Regions from separate parts of the Homo sapiens genome. Here region 2 is linked to region 1. The links are contacts of gene promoters, found by promoter capture Hi-C in blood cells and fetal thymus (Javierre and others, 2016). All regions are on one chromosome and are shown on one strand. Each heading gives the region's core, a stretch centred on a gene start or on the middle of the fragment in contact. The rest is flanking DNA. Distances are from core to core; before and after follow the strand shown.

Region 1 (6,220 bases), core at 3,477-5,976:
CTCTATTTTGAGCATGCATGTTCCACTTTTTTTTTTTTTTTTTTTTTTTGAGATGGAGTGTCGCTCTGTCACCCAGGCTGGAGTGCAGTGGTGCGATATTGTCTTACTGCAACCTTCACCTCCCAGGTTCAAGCGATTCTCCTGCCTCAGCCTCCCTAGTAGCTGGGATTACAGGGATTACAGGCATCGGCCACCACACCTGGCTAATTTTTTTTGTATTTTTAGTAGAGATGGGGTTTCACCATGTTGGCCAGGCTGGTCTGGAACTCCTGACCTCAAGTGATCCACCTGCCTCAGCCTCCCAAAGTTCTGGGTTTACAGGAGTGAGCCACCCTGCCCAGCCGCTATCTCTCTCTCTATTTTGAGCACACATGTTCTTTCCATCTCTCTCTCTATATATATTTTTGGGCACACGTGTTCTCTGTGTGTGTGTGTGTCTATTTTCAGCATGCATGTTCTCTGTCTCTATCTCCATCTCTATTTTGAGCACACATGTTCTCTCTCTCTCTTTCTGATTTCAACACGCATATTCTCCATCTCTATGTGAACATGCATGTTTTCTCTTTATCTCTACTAATCATCTTTCTCTCTCTCTCTCTCTCACTCCATCCTCCAAGCCACTCTCAGGCACTCAGGCATGTGGTAAACATCCCCACCCGTCTCCATGTCACAGTGGACAGTGGGGACCCCTCTAACGGGCCCCTCTGCCCCAATACAGAATGCAGCTTCTCTTCTGGAGTCTTCCTGCTTTCCCAGGCTCTCCCCAGGAAGCAAAACGCAGAACCCCTCTGCTCTTGGACCCCACAAACCCACATGGGGTCCCCTCCTTGGATGAGGGGAGGGGCTGCAGGCCTGGGTCTCCCTTCCTTGGGGACCTGGAACAGCTTCTCCCTGTCCCTTCTTGTTCTCCTTCCTCTCAAAGTCGGGAAAATCTTTTCCAGTCTCGTTTAGTGTCTGAAATCTTTTTTTTTTTTTGAGACAGAGTATCACTCTGTTGCCCAGGCTGGAGTGCAGCTCACTGCAACCTCCACCTATGGGGTTCAAGTGATTCTTCTGCCTCAGCCTCCCAAGTAGCTGGGATTACAGGCACGCACTACCACACCCGGCTAACTTTTGTATTTTTAGTAGAGACAAGGCTTCACCATGTTGGCCAGGCTGGTTATTGTCTCAAATCTAGGGTCCTAACCTGAGTTTTCTGAAAACTCAAAAACTAGAAGAATTTTCATTTTCTCTTTCTGCTTTCTCATCCATTTGCTGAGGTAACAAAATTTAGGGCTGACTTGCTTGAATGGGAGAAGGACTGTTGGGGAAAAGGAAACTCTGGAGTGGAAAAAACATGTAAATATTTGAACATAGGATCCCATCATACATACAGGCACAGGGAGAAGAAACCATTGGCGGAAGTAGGACAGAATGTTAACGGGGTGCTGTTTTCAAACGGTGGACCCATGAATGAACTTTTTAAAAAAATTTTATTTATTTATTTTTTATTTTTTTTATTTTTATTTTTGAGTTGGAGTGTTGATCTGTCTCCCAGGCTGGAGTGCAATGGCGTGATCTTGGCTCACTGCAACCTCTGCCTCCCGAGTTCAAGCAATTCTCCTGCCTCAGCCTCCTGTGTAGCTGGGATTACAGGCATGTGCCACTACGCCCTGCTAATGTTTGTATTTTTAGTAGAGACAGGGTTTCACCATGTTGGCCAGGCTGGTCTTGAACTCCTGACCTCAAGTGATTCACCCACCTCAGCCTCCCAAAGTGCTGAGATTACAGGATGAGCCCCTGCACCCAGCTGATTATTATTAATATTTTTGAGATAGTGTCTTGCTCTTTAGCCCAGGCTGGAGTGCAGTGGTGCAGTCACAGCTAACTGCAGCCTCCAGCTCCTAGGCTCAAGTGATCCTCCCACCTCAGCCTCCTGAGTAGCTGGGACTACAGGTGTGAGCCACCACACCTGTCCAGATATTTTCTTATTTAAATTTTTCTGAATTTTACAAAGTTTCTAGAATGTATATTGCTTTTATCATTACACACACACACACACACACACACAATTTATTCCAGTTCATTTGCAGTTTGTATTTTATGCAAGTCAAATTTTTTGCATGAGAAATGCCTGAATCCAAGCATAGTAAACACAATGTACATTTCAAAACAATGCAGAGTGTACAAAATATAGAGCAGAAAGGAGGGTTCATTCACACACTCAATAGCTTGGGTTAGGTTCTACAATGGCAAACAATCACTTTTGTTATAAAGTTAGGAGTACTGGGCCAATTTAGGGGTGTTGGAACAGCTAAGCATGAAAGAGCAACCAAGTAAACTAAAGACTTCATAATGTACATATTTCTTTGTTTTTGTTTTGTTTTGTCTTGTTTTTTATTTATTTATTTATTTTGAGACAAAGTCTCACTCTGTTGCCCAGGCTGGAGTGCAATGGCACGATCATGGCTCACGGCAGCCTCCACCTCCTGGGTTCAAGCAATTCTCCTGCCTCAGTCTCCCAAGTAGCTGGAATTACAGGCATGCGCCATCACGCCCGGCTAATTTTGGTATTTTTAGTAGAGACAGGGTTTCACCATGTTGGCCAGGCTGGTCTCAAACTGCTGACCTCAGGTGATCCACCCACCTCGACCTCCCAAAGTGCTGAGATTACATGCATGAGCCACCGCGCCCAGCCTGTTTTGTTTTTTAGAGACAGGGTCTCACTCTGTTGCCCAGGCTGGAGAGCAGTGGTGCTACCTGCAGCCTGGATCTCCTGGAATCAAGGGATCCTCCTACCTCAGCCTCCCAAGTAGCTGGGGCTACTAGTGCACACCAGCGTGCCTGGCTTATTTTTTATTTTTTGTAGAGACTGAGGTCTTGCTATGTTGCCCAGGCTGCTCTTGAACTTCTGAACCTGGTATGGCTTAGTGTGAAATAACTTTCACAAAAATCCCAACCTGTTTCAACCCAGCCTAAGACAGTGGTGTAGTTCCTTCAGATGGTCAGCTAGGAGGTCCAAGCAGGATAAGGACAAGGAAGGGGCTGACAGAGTGGAAGAGAGACTGAGGGATGAAGGTACCGTGTAGGTCAGGGCACAGGGATAAGGAGAATGAAAGGGTGAAACCGTTGCATGGAGAGGAGGCTGCAATCAGAGAAAGGGACATTGGAACTAAAGTGGTTCTGAGTGTGACAAGGGCCCAGTGCAGTTGTGGCGTGGGGGATAAGGTCTCCAAAGAGGTACACCCACTGAGAGGCTGCAATGCTGGCTAAGCTGTACCTTGGACATTGAAGACACCAAGGAGAGTGGCAGGATTTGTGATGGAGATGAAGGCTAGGGGCCAAGCTACCAAGTTTTCAGTAACTGTGAGGGGATGACCAGGAGGGCCAAGGATGACAAAGAGGACGGGGAGAAGGTGGCAGAGCTGGGCTGCATGACCCTCAAATCAGCAGGGATTTTTTTTTTTTTATTTTTACACAAGGATGAAGGAGACATGAATGAGTTGAAACTTGCAAACAGGGTGGACCTTACCTTCAAGGACCCTGGCAGACCCTCTCTGAACAAAACTGGAGACATCTACCAGGAGCAAGGGTGGTCACGGCCATTAGAAGGTGCCCTTCCATGCGGAGTTGTCTTACATCTAAGGCATAGGAATCTCTAAGCTCTACGAAGACAGGGACCTCATCATCTTGTTCATCAGGCAGGCATGTCATAGCTTATAATAAATGCATATTTATTGGCTGGGCGCGGTGGCTTATGCCTGTAATCCCAGCACTTTGGGAGGACGAGGTGAGCGGATCAACTGAGGTCAGGAGTTTGAGACCAGCCTGGCCAAAGTGGTGAAGCCCCATCTCTACTAAAAATACAGAAATTAGCTGGGCATGTTGGCCCACATTTTTAATCCCAGCTACTCGGGAGGAGGATTGCTTGGACCCAGGATGCAAAGGTTGCAGTTAGCCAAGATAGTGCCATTGCACTCCAGCCTGGGTGACAAGATCGACTCTGTCTCAAAAAATAAATACATGCATATTTATTTATTTATTTTATTTTTGGAGAGTGTGTCTCTCTCTGTCGCCCAGGCTGGAGTGCAATGGCACAGTTATAGCTCACTGCAGCCTTGACTTCCTGGCTCAAGCAATCCTCCCACCTCAGCCTCGCGAGTAGCTGGAACTACAGGTGGACATCACCACACCTGGCCATTTTTTTTTGTAGAGATGGGGTCTCACTATGTTGCTGGTCTCCAACTCCTGGTTTCAAGTGATCCTCCCTCCTAGGCCTCCCAAAGTGCTGGGATTACAGAGGTGAGCCACTTACCTGACCCATAATAAATATTTATTGAACGAACGACTGAATTCACCAATTAATCGCTATTTCCTGATAGCCCACCGGGATCCGCTGGTGCAATGATAAAGAGCGCAGGCTTTGAGATCAGGCGGATCTGTATTGGGACTGCGGCTCTCAGCCTCCGCTTGTACCTGCTGTGCAGTGAGGACTCCAGGAACTGATGATGAACCGGCACGGTCCTCGGCACGTGGCAAGTTCTCCATAAGTGGGCTCAGTAAAATCCCTCTCCCGGGAAAGCGCCCCACCGTGTTTGGTGGGGTGACTGGGACGCGAGGATGCGGCTGGGAGTGTGATGAGAAGGGCGGGGATCGGCGAGGACTCCAGGCTGGGGTTGCAGGCCCAGCCAGGGGCGGAGCCTTCTCCGGGTCGGGCGGGGACAGAGCGCTCCCTTGGAGGCACCCAGGGACCTGGCCAGCCGTGCAGCTGCCCAGGCGCTATGGCGAGTGCGGTCAGGGGGTCGAGGCCGTGGCCCCGGCTGGGGCTCCAGCTCCAGTTCGCGGCGCTGCTGCTCGGGACGCTGAGTCCACAGGTGAGAGCCAGGGACCGACGCCAAGTCCCCAAAGTCTGGTCGCGGGGCGCAGGGGGCGGCGTCGCACTTGGGGCGAGGGCGCGGCGGGGCCACGGGGGCACCTCTCCCTCCCTCACGCCTGGGTGGTCCCAACTCGGCCCCAACGGAGTAAAAGCCTCCTGGGTTTGGGGAGCCGCCAGTTGCCCCCAACAAATACCTAGCTGGGGAGATCTGCCAGCGTGGAAAGGCAAGAGTAGACAGAGCACCCCGCCTCTTCAGCAGGGAGAGGTGTAGTCTGGGGTAGGGGGGCACCTGGGCACGAAAGCCAGGCCTCTTAAAACTTCTGGGAATCCTGGCTTCCTTTGAAAATATGATTGACTTCAGGGCCCTCTGCTGAGAAATGAGCCTGCACGCCCAGTTTTGCAATTTCAGAGGCTTTACAATACGGTCCCCTTACCCATGGCTGCACCCCAGGTTCAGAACCTATGGGATAAATGAGCTGGGAGTGTCAGTATCTGCTCCCACGGTGCCAGGAATAGCAGAGTCTTACAGAAATGCAGCCAGGAGGCAAAAGTCGCCTGGCCTAAGAATCCAGGTGTCCCGCCTAGAACCCCCATGGGGCAAAAGCGATCAGGTAGAGTTAGGCACCTCTCATTCCCGGCTTCCACCTCATGGGTCCACCTCATGGTTGCCAGCTAAGAATGCAAGCCCAGTGTGGCCAGATCGGATGTCTCTGGAAAAATTAGAAATGAGAAAGATTTGAAATCTTGGTTTTTTTGTAGAAATCATCCAATTTTTAAAAAAATTGGCAGCTAATTGAAAAATTTTTAAGCACTAGATGGTCAAACAAAATTCATTTCTGGGCAACCAATCTGCAGCCTCTTCTCCAAACCGTTCTCCCTCCTGCCATGCTGCAGATGACAAAATTGAAGCCCAGAAAGAAAGAGGGGCTAGCAGATAATTTCCTGACCCTCCACTCAACACCAGTGGCCCAGCCCCAAACCTGAGGGTCCTGAAGCAGGATGTGGCCTTTGTAGGGGTGCGGCTGGGCCACCCGGATGTTAGGCCTCCTGCTGGGAGCTCAGCCTCACCCTGTTTGCTCAAGGAGGGACTGGAGCAGGTGAGTGAGCCCAGGATCGCCAGATGTAAGTACGGGTGGCTCCAGCCCCCCTCCCAAGGGCACCCCCCAGCCTTGGGTCAAGGGACCCACTGGAGCCTGGCACCAAAACCAGCTGGGCTGGTTTGGGGAGGCAGAAAGGGGCATCCCAAAAGAGGTAGACATTGTGGCAGAGGAAAAAGAGGCCAGGCATAGGAATCAGAGGGATGGCAACTCAAGTCCTTAGTTTTGCCACTTATTATCTCTGTGGCTTTATGCCAATGACCTAACC
Region 2 (6,250 bases), core at 560-3,059, 330 kb before region 1:
TCTCATTTTAATTCAGTCTTTTCTTTTCTTTTTTTTGAGACAGAGTCTTACTCTATCACCCAGGCTGTAGTGCATGAATGACCTGATCTCTGTTCACTGCAAACTCCACCTGCAGGGTTCAAGTGATTCTCGTGTCTCACCCTCCAGAGCAGGTGGGATTACAGGCATGCACCACCATACCCAGCTAATTTTTTGGATTTTTTTTAGTAGAGACGGGGTTTCACCATGTTGGCCAGACTGGTTTGGAACTCCTGGCCTCAAGTGATCCACCCTCCTCAGCCTCCCAAAGTGCTGGGATTACAGGTGTGAGCCACCGCGCCTGGCCTAATTCAATGCTTTCAACAACTACCTAGTATCACATAAAATGGGTACCCCTTCATTAGGCTGATGTTTTCTTTGCATCTCAAAGAAAACATCAATAAACATGCTTGTTCTAGATTTTATTTCTTTGCACGCTGGTGTTTCATTTTAAGAGAATAGATTCCCTAAAGGAAAACGTGAGAGTCAAAATGTTCATATGTATACATATTTTAATAGACATTGCTGGACCACTGTCCCCAAAGGCAGTCACAAGTCACAGCCCTGCAGGTCCCAGCAGTGCCCACTTCAATGCAATTCCCTAGACATTTGGGAGCAATGACCGCGCCCAGCACATCCTGAAGGCCTCAGACGCTGGCCTGGCCTTGATAATTCTCATGAGACTTAAATGACCAGGGAAGAAGAGAAGGAACACTGAATAGCAAGACGTCAGCTTCCCTACATCTCCTTAGGTCCAGTATCCCAAAACTTCAGTGCCTGAGACACTCACCTCAACCTAACAAGCTGATAGGCTTTGAAGGAAGGATGGGCAAGAGACCCTTCCCCTGGCCTCATGGGGTGTGCAGACAACTATCAGTAATACACTGAGAAAGATGATAGATGTTCCATAGACAGATATGATTTAACTGAACTTCTTCATTACAACAATACTAAAAAAAAAGCAAAATAAAGCAGGTGTATTGAGTTTTTAAAGGCATTTTGCTCTTCAATGAATACATAACAAAAAATTGTAAACAAGAATTTCCAATTTTCAAAGTTTCTACTTTACTGCATTATAACTCCTCAAAAAACAAACAAAAAAAATTGAACAACTATTAAGTTTCATGTCATCTAAGGGATTTTAGGTATAATAGACATCCCAATAGCCAGAGCTCATGAGTATGAGTGCAGTGTGTGGGGACATAAAGGCATTTCTCTGGTTCATACCTTCCCTTGGATCCTCAACAGCAGCTGTGACATCAAAAAAGAGAATTAATTTGATAAGGGTTAGAATGACAGTCATATGCATTTGTCAAAACTCAGCCATTGTACACTTAAGACATCACCGGGCACAGTGGCTCACATCTATAATCCCAGCGCTTTGGGAGGCCAAAGTGGGAGGATTGCTTGAACCATGGAGTTCAAGACCAGCCTAGGCAACATGGCAAAACCCCATCTCTACAAAACTACAAAAATTAGCTGAGTGTGGTGGCTCATGCCTGTAGTCCCAGCTACTTTGTAGGCTGAGGTGGGAGAATCAATTGAGCCTGGGAGGTCGAGGCTGCAGTAAGCCGTGATTACGCCACTACACTCCAGCTTGGGTGACAAAGTGAGACTGTCTCAAAAAAAAAAAAAATTTTGTATGTATCATTGTATGTACATTTCACCTCAAAAGTTAAAAAAAAAAAAGAAACCCTACAAGTAAATTTTGAATTCTATTGATGTTGGGCATGCTGAAGTGTTTGGGGGAAATCGAATTGGTGTCTGCAGTTTACTTTGAAATGTGTCAAAAATAAGACAGATTGATGGATGGAGAGCGAGATAGTTGGAAATGTGATTAAGCAAGTGTGGAAACGTTAACGACAGAATATAGGTGGTGGATAAATGAGTGTTTGCTGTAAAATTCTTTCAACTTAGTTCAAAATAAAGACTTGGGAAAAAATTACAAACCAATAATGTAAAAGGGAAGGGAGATCTACCAGAACTGGGCCCTATCTGTGTGTGACCTGAAGAAGTAACCTTTCTCTGGACCTCAGTGAGCGTAGCTGGTCTCTGCTGCACCTTCCATTATGAGCAATGACAGTACTGTGGTTTCACAAATTGGGGCATCTCCTGAGAGAGCCTCCGAGGAGGAATGGCTTTGAAGGCAGAGACTGCCCCCTAGTGGGCCCTCGCGGCCTAGTTTATAATAATTTTCTGTCTGCAATTGACGCATGGCTGGGCAATATTACACAAACCCCCATGACACAAGTTTACCTATATAACAAACCTGCACACGTACCCCCCCACCAAAGTTCAAATAAAAGTTAAACAAAAATAAATATTAAGCTATCTGGATTTTTTTTTCTTGTTTACATTGCCCTTTTTCTTCCCAATTCTTTTTTTTTTTTTTTTCCAAGATGGAGTCTCACTCTGTTACCCAGGCTGGAGTGCTGTGATGCAATCTCAGCTCACTGCAACCTCTGCCTCCTGGGTCCAAGCGATTCTCCTGTCTCAGCCTCCTGAGTAGCTGGGATTACAGGCATCCACCACCACACCTGGCTAATTTTTGTATTTTTAGTAGAGACAGGGTTTTGTCACGTTGGTCTTGAACTCCTGACTGTAGGTGATACAGCCGCCTCAGCCTCCCAAAATGCTGGGATTACCGACGTGAGCCACCACACTCAGCCTCTTTGGTACTCTTTTTCTTTTGATGTGTGGATGTCAGATCTTAAGAAGGATTTAAATATCACAATATTGGGAGTACCTAAGGCTGTCAGGGAGATGTTTCAGTCTAAAAAGTTTCTGTATAACACAATATAATGGTAAGAATATAGAATGGGAGTTCCAAAGAGAAACATTTAAAAAAAAAAAGGTTCTTTCTGCTTTCTTTAAGAACACTCCCAACTTTTGGGAGATAGATATGAGGATGGACATGGCTAAGCATTTGGAGGTGGCTGTAATGTAGATGGGAGTATAAATAATAGATGTCAGTTGTTATGTTGATAGGTAGATACTGAATTGAAAAAGCATTGAATAAGATATTGTTAGCTGGGTGCGGTGGCTCACGCCTGTAATCCCAGCCCTTTGGGAGGCTGAGGTGGGCAAATCATGAGGTCAGGAGATCGAGACCATCCTGGCTAACACAGTGAAACTCCATCTCTACCAAAAATACAAAAAAAAATTAGCCGGCCATGGTGGCATGCGCCTGTAGTCGCAGCTACTCGGGAGGCTGAGGCAGGAGAATGGCTTGAACCTGGGAGGGGGAGGTTGCAGTGAGCTGAGATTGCACCACTGCACTCCAGCCTGGGTGACAGCAAGACTCTGTCACACACACACAAAAAAAATTATTGTTGCATGTATGAACACGCAGGCTTCACAAACCTTGGGAGCATTTTACAACTCTGATCTGGACATTGTATTGCCTGATCTCATGACACCTATGGGCATCATGATGTCAATACGGTTTCCTGGGATACTACAAATCCCACTGCTCCATGTCTTTTCTACATTGTCCAGGGAACAAGGGTGGTCATGACTCCAACAAGCGGGTCTCAGTCCCAGTAACATTTGCTGTTGACGTTGGACCTGGTACTTAAGATTTTCTGCATGTTCTACCTCCCATGAGAATAATGGTATAAATTGGACAATCCGTTGACCTTCATTTCCTGACTTTAGGAGGCACTGATCTGGGGACCATCAGTGAAAGCCTTATATCTATCTATCAGGATCCTCCAGGGGTTTCTCATTCATACATACAGCCATTGAGCCCATAAATATTTAGTGATGCCCACCTTGCTAGGTGCTGGGAGTAGAGTGGCAAGACACAGTCCCGCCCTCATGGAGCTAATGCCTTGTGATGAGATGCAGACATTAATCAAATCCAACATAAAATCACCCCTTTCACAAGGCCAAGCTCAGGTTACCATGAGTGTCTACGAAAGGGGGAAGTTGGAGGAAGCTTATTAGATGGTAAAAATGAACCGAGATCGAGAGGAAGAGTTAATTGCTAGAAAAAGAGAAGATGGCAATGGCAAACATTCTAAACAGAACGCACAGATGTCTTATGGTGTGTGGCAGTCTGCAGAGGACCAAGGATTAAAAGAAAGGGGGAGGAGACAGTGAATAAAGAATGAGATCGCCATGTTAGATTTAGTCTGTTATAAAGACAATGGGAAACCATTGATGGGTTTTTAAAAGGAGGAGAACTGATCAGATTTATTCTCATCTTGACCTGCCAAAACACTAAGAACAGATATATGAGCTCAATTTCAGTAGCCAGGCAAGTTAGAAAACCTTTGACCTCTAGAGATGCTGAGATTTCCAAAGAACATATGACACTCAGGGCAAACGGCAGTGTCCTGGGCTGATGGTCAGTGGAAAATCCTAATACTGACCATGCTTCTTGGGTCTGGATGAGGTGGGGCCATTCCACAAACACCACAAGGCCACTTCTGGCCTGGCACTGCTGGGAAGGACCCCGCACAACCTTTAGTGCTCGCTCCTCTCTGATCTGTCTTGCCAAGACCAAGGAGGAGGGGGCTGGAGTCCCAGCAATGAAACCAGGAAGACAGTCAGGAGACCAAGGGAAACTTGAGTGTGCCAGATGCTGTTGGACCCTGCCCAGCTCCCCTCCATGCTGGCCAATGCACCCATCCCCTGGGTGCTGTGTATGATGGCTGTTAATGGCTCACAGTTACCCCTATGTCCAGATAACTGTCCTCAACTGCACAGAAGCCTCCTCACCTGGGAAGTTACTCTACCTTCCCACCTCCATCCCCAGCAGCCTACAGCAGTAACTGACTATATCAGCCAGCTCAGGCTGTCATAACAGAATACCATGGACTGGGTGGCTTAAACAACAGACATTTAGGCCGGCACAGTGGCTCACGCCTGTAATCCCAACACTTTGGGAGGCCAAGGCGGGCGGATCACTTGAGGTCAGGAGATTGAGACCATCCTGGCTAACATGGTGAAACTCCGTCTCTACTAAAAATAAAAAAAATCAGCTGGGCATGGTGGCACGTGCCTGTAATCCTAGCCACTCGGGAGGCTGAGACCGGAGAATCGCTTGAACATGAGAGGCAGAGGTTGCAGTGAGCAGAGATCATGCCACTGCACTCCAGCCTGGGTGACAGAGCAAGACTCCATCTAAAACAAAATAAAAAGAAAAAAAGAAAAAAAGACATTTATTTCTTCACAGTTCTGGGGGCTGGGAAGTCCAAGATCGAGGTACCAGCAGCTTCAATTCCTGGTAAGGACTCACTTCCTGGCTTGCAGACGGCCACCTTCTTGCTGTATCCTTCCTTTGGTGGAGACAGAATGATCTCTCTTTCTTCTTCCTCTTAGAAATCCACAAATCCCATTATGAGGGCCCCACCCTCACAACCTCATCTAACCCTAATTACCACCCAAAGGTCCCATAGCTCCAAATACCACCACACTGGGGGTGAGGCTTTAAGATACAAATCTGGGGGAGACACAAGTCATCCCACAGCACTGACTGACCTGGAACACGACAGAACAGCCCCCTTGCCTCAAGATGGGACTGACTGTGCTACAGTGTTTGGTACAAAATTCCACCAGATACCAGGCTGAAGAAGACTTCCACGGAGACCACACTCTCGCCAAGCTTTTTCCCTGCCTGAGGAAGGAAGCATGGTTCCTTCACTTCTCTTTTCCCATGAGCAGCCCAATAAATCACTGGAACAAAATCCCCATCTTGGCTCTATTTTTAGAGAACTCGGCCACAGCATCAGGGCTCTCTTCTATCATCCATCAATCAACAAGCCCATGCTGAGTACAGGCTGTGCCCAGCATGGTGTATGGGCAATTGCAGGGCATTGTGACATGGGGCCAGAGGCCCAGGTGCTCACCCCTGCTCAGCATGTGACATTGGTCAGGGTGTTCAGCCTTGCTGAGACTTCGTTTTCCCTTCCATGATGGCAACAACGTGCCCTTTCCCGAATGGTGTGATATCAAAGTATTTGGAAAAGCACAAAGTGCTATTAAACTTCTTTATACATTTGCCTGCTCTGAACATCCCAAAGAAATGAAATCCTACAATATGCCAGGGTCTCACTATGTTGGCCAGGCTGGTCTTGAACGCCTAGTCTCAAGCAATCCTCCTGTCTTAGCCTCCCAAAGTGCTGGGATTACAGGTGTGAGCCACCACACCTGGCCTTTTTTGTTTGTTTGTTTTTCTTGTTTTTGTTTTATGAGACGGAGTCTTGCTCTGTCACCCAGGCTGGAG

The links. The method cuts DNA at HindIII sites, captures the fragments that hold promoters and counts their contacts. A CHiCAGO score of 5 or more calls a contact.
Region 2: a contact is called between a fragment that was not itself captured here and the fragment with the promoter of ERN2 in region 1, in 2 of 17 cell types (erythroblasts and M1 macrophages). The highest score is 5.9, in erythroblasts.

Annotation. Positions count from the first base shown.
Region 1 is chr16:23,711,728-23,717,947 of GRCh38, reverse strand. It overlaps ERN2 (endoplasmic reticulum to nucleus signaling 2), which reads left to right and starts at 4,726. Exons shown (of 22, transcript NM_033266.4): 1 at 4,726-4,853. The coding sequence starts at 4,761. The HindIII fragment of the contact is 14,517 bases long and covers 1-6,220 here.
Region 2 is chr16:24,038,148-24,044,397 of GRCh38, reverse strand. All of the region lies in intron 5 of PRKCB (protein kinase C beta), which reads right to left. Among named protein-coding and RNA genes, the nearest start is that of MIR1273H, 160 kb to the left of the region's middle. The HindIII fragment of the contact is 4,302 bases long and covers 1-3,960 here.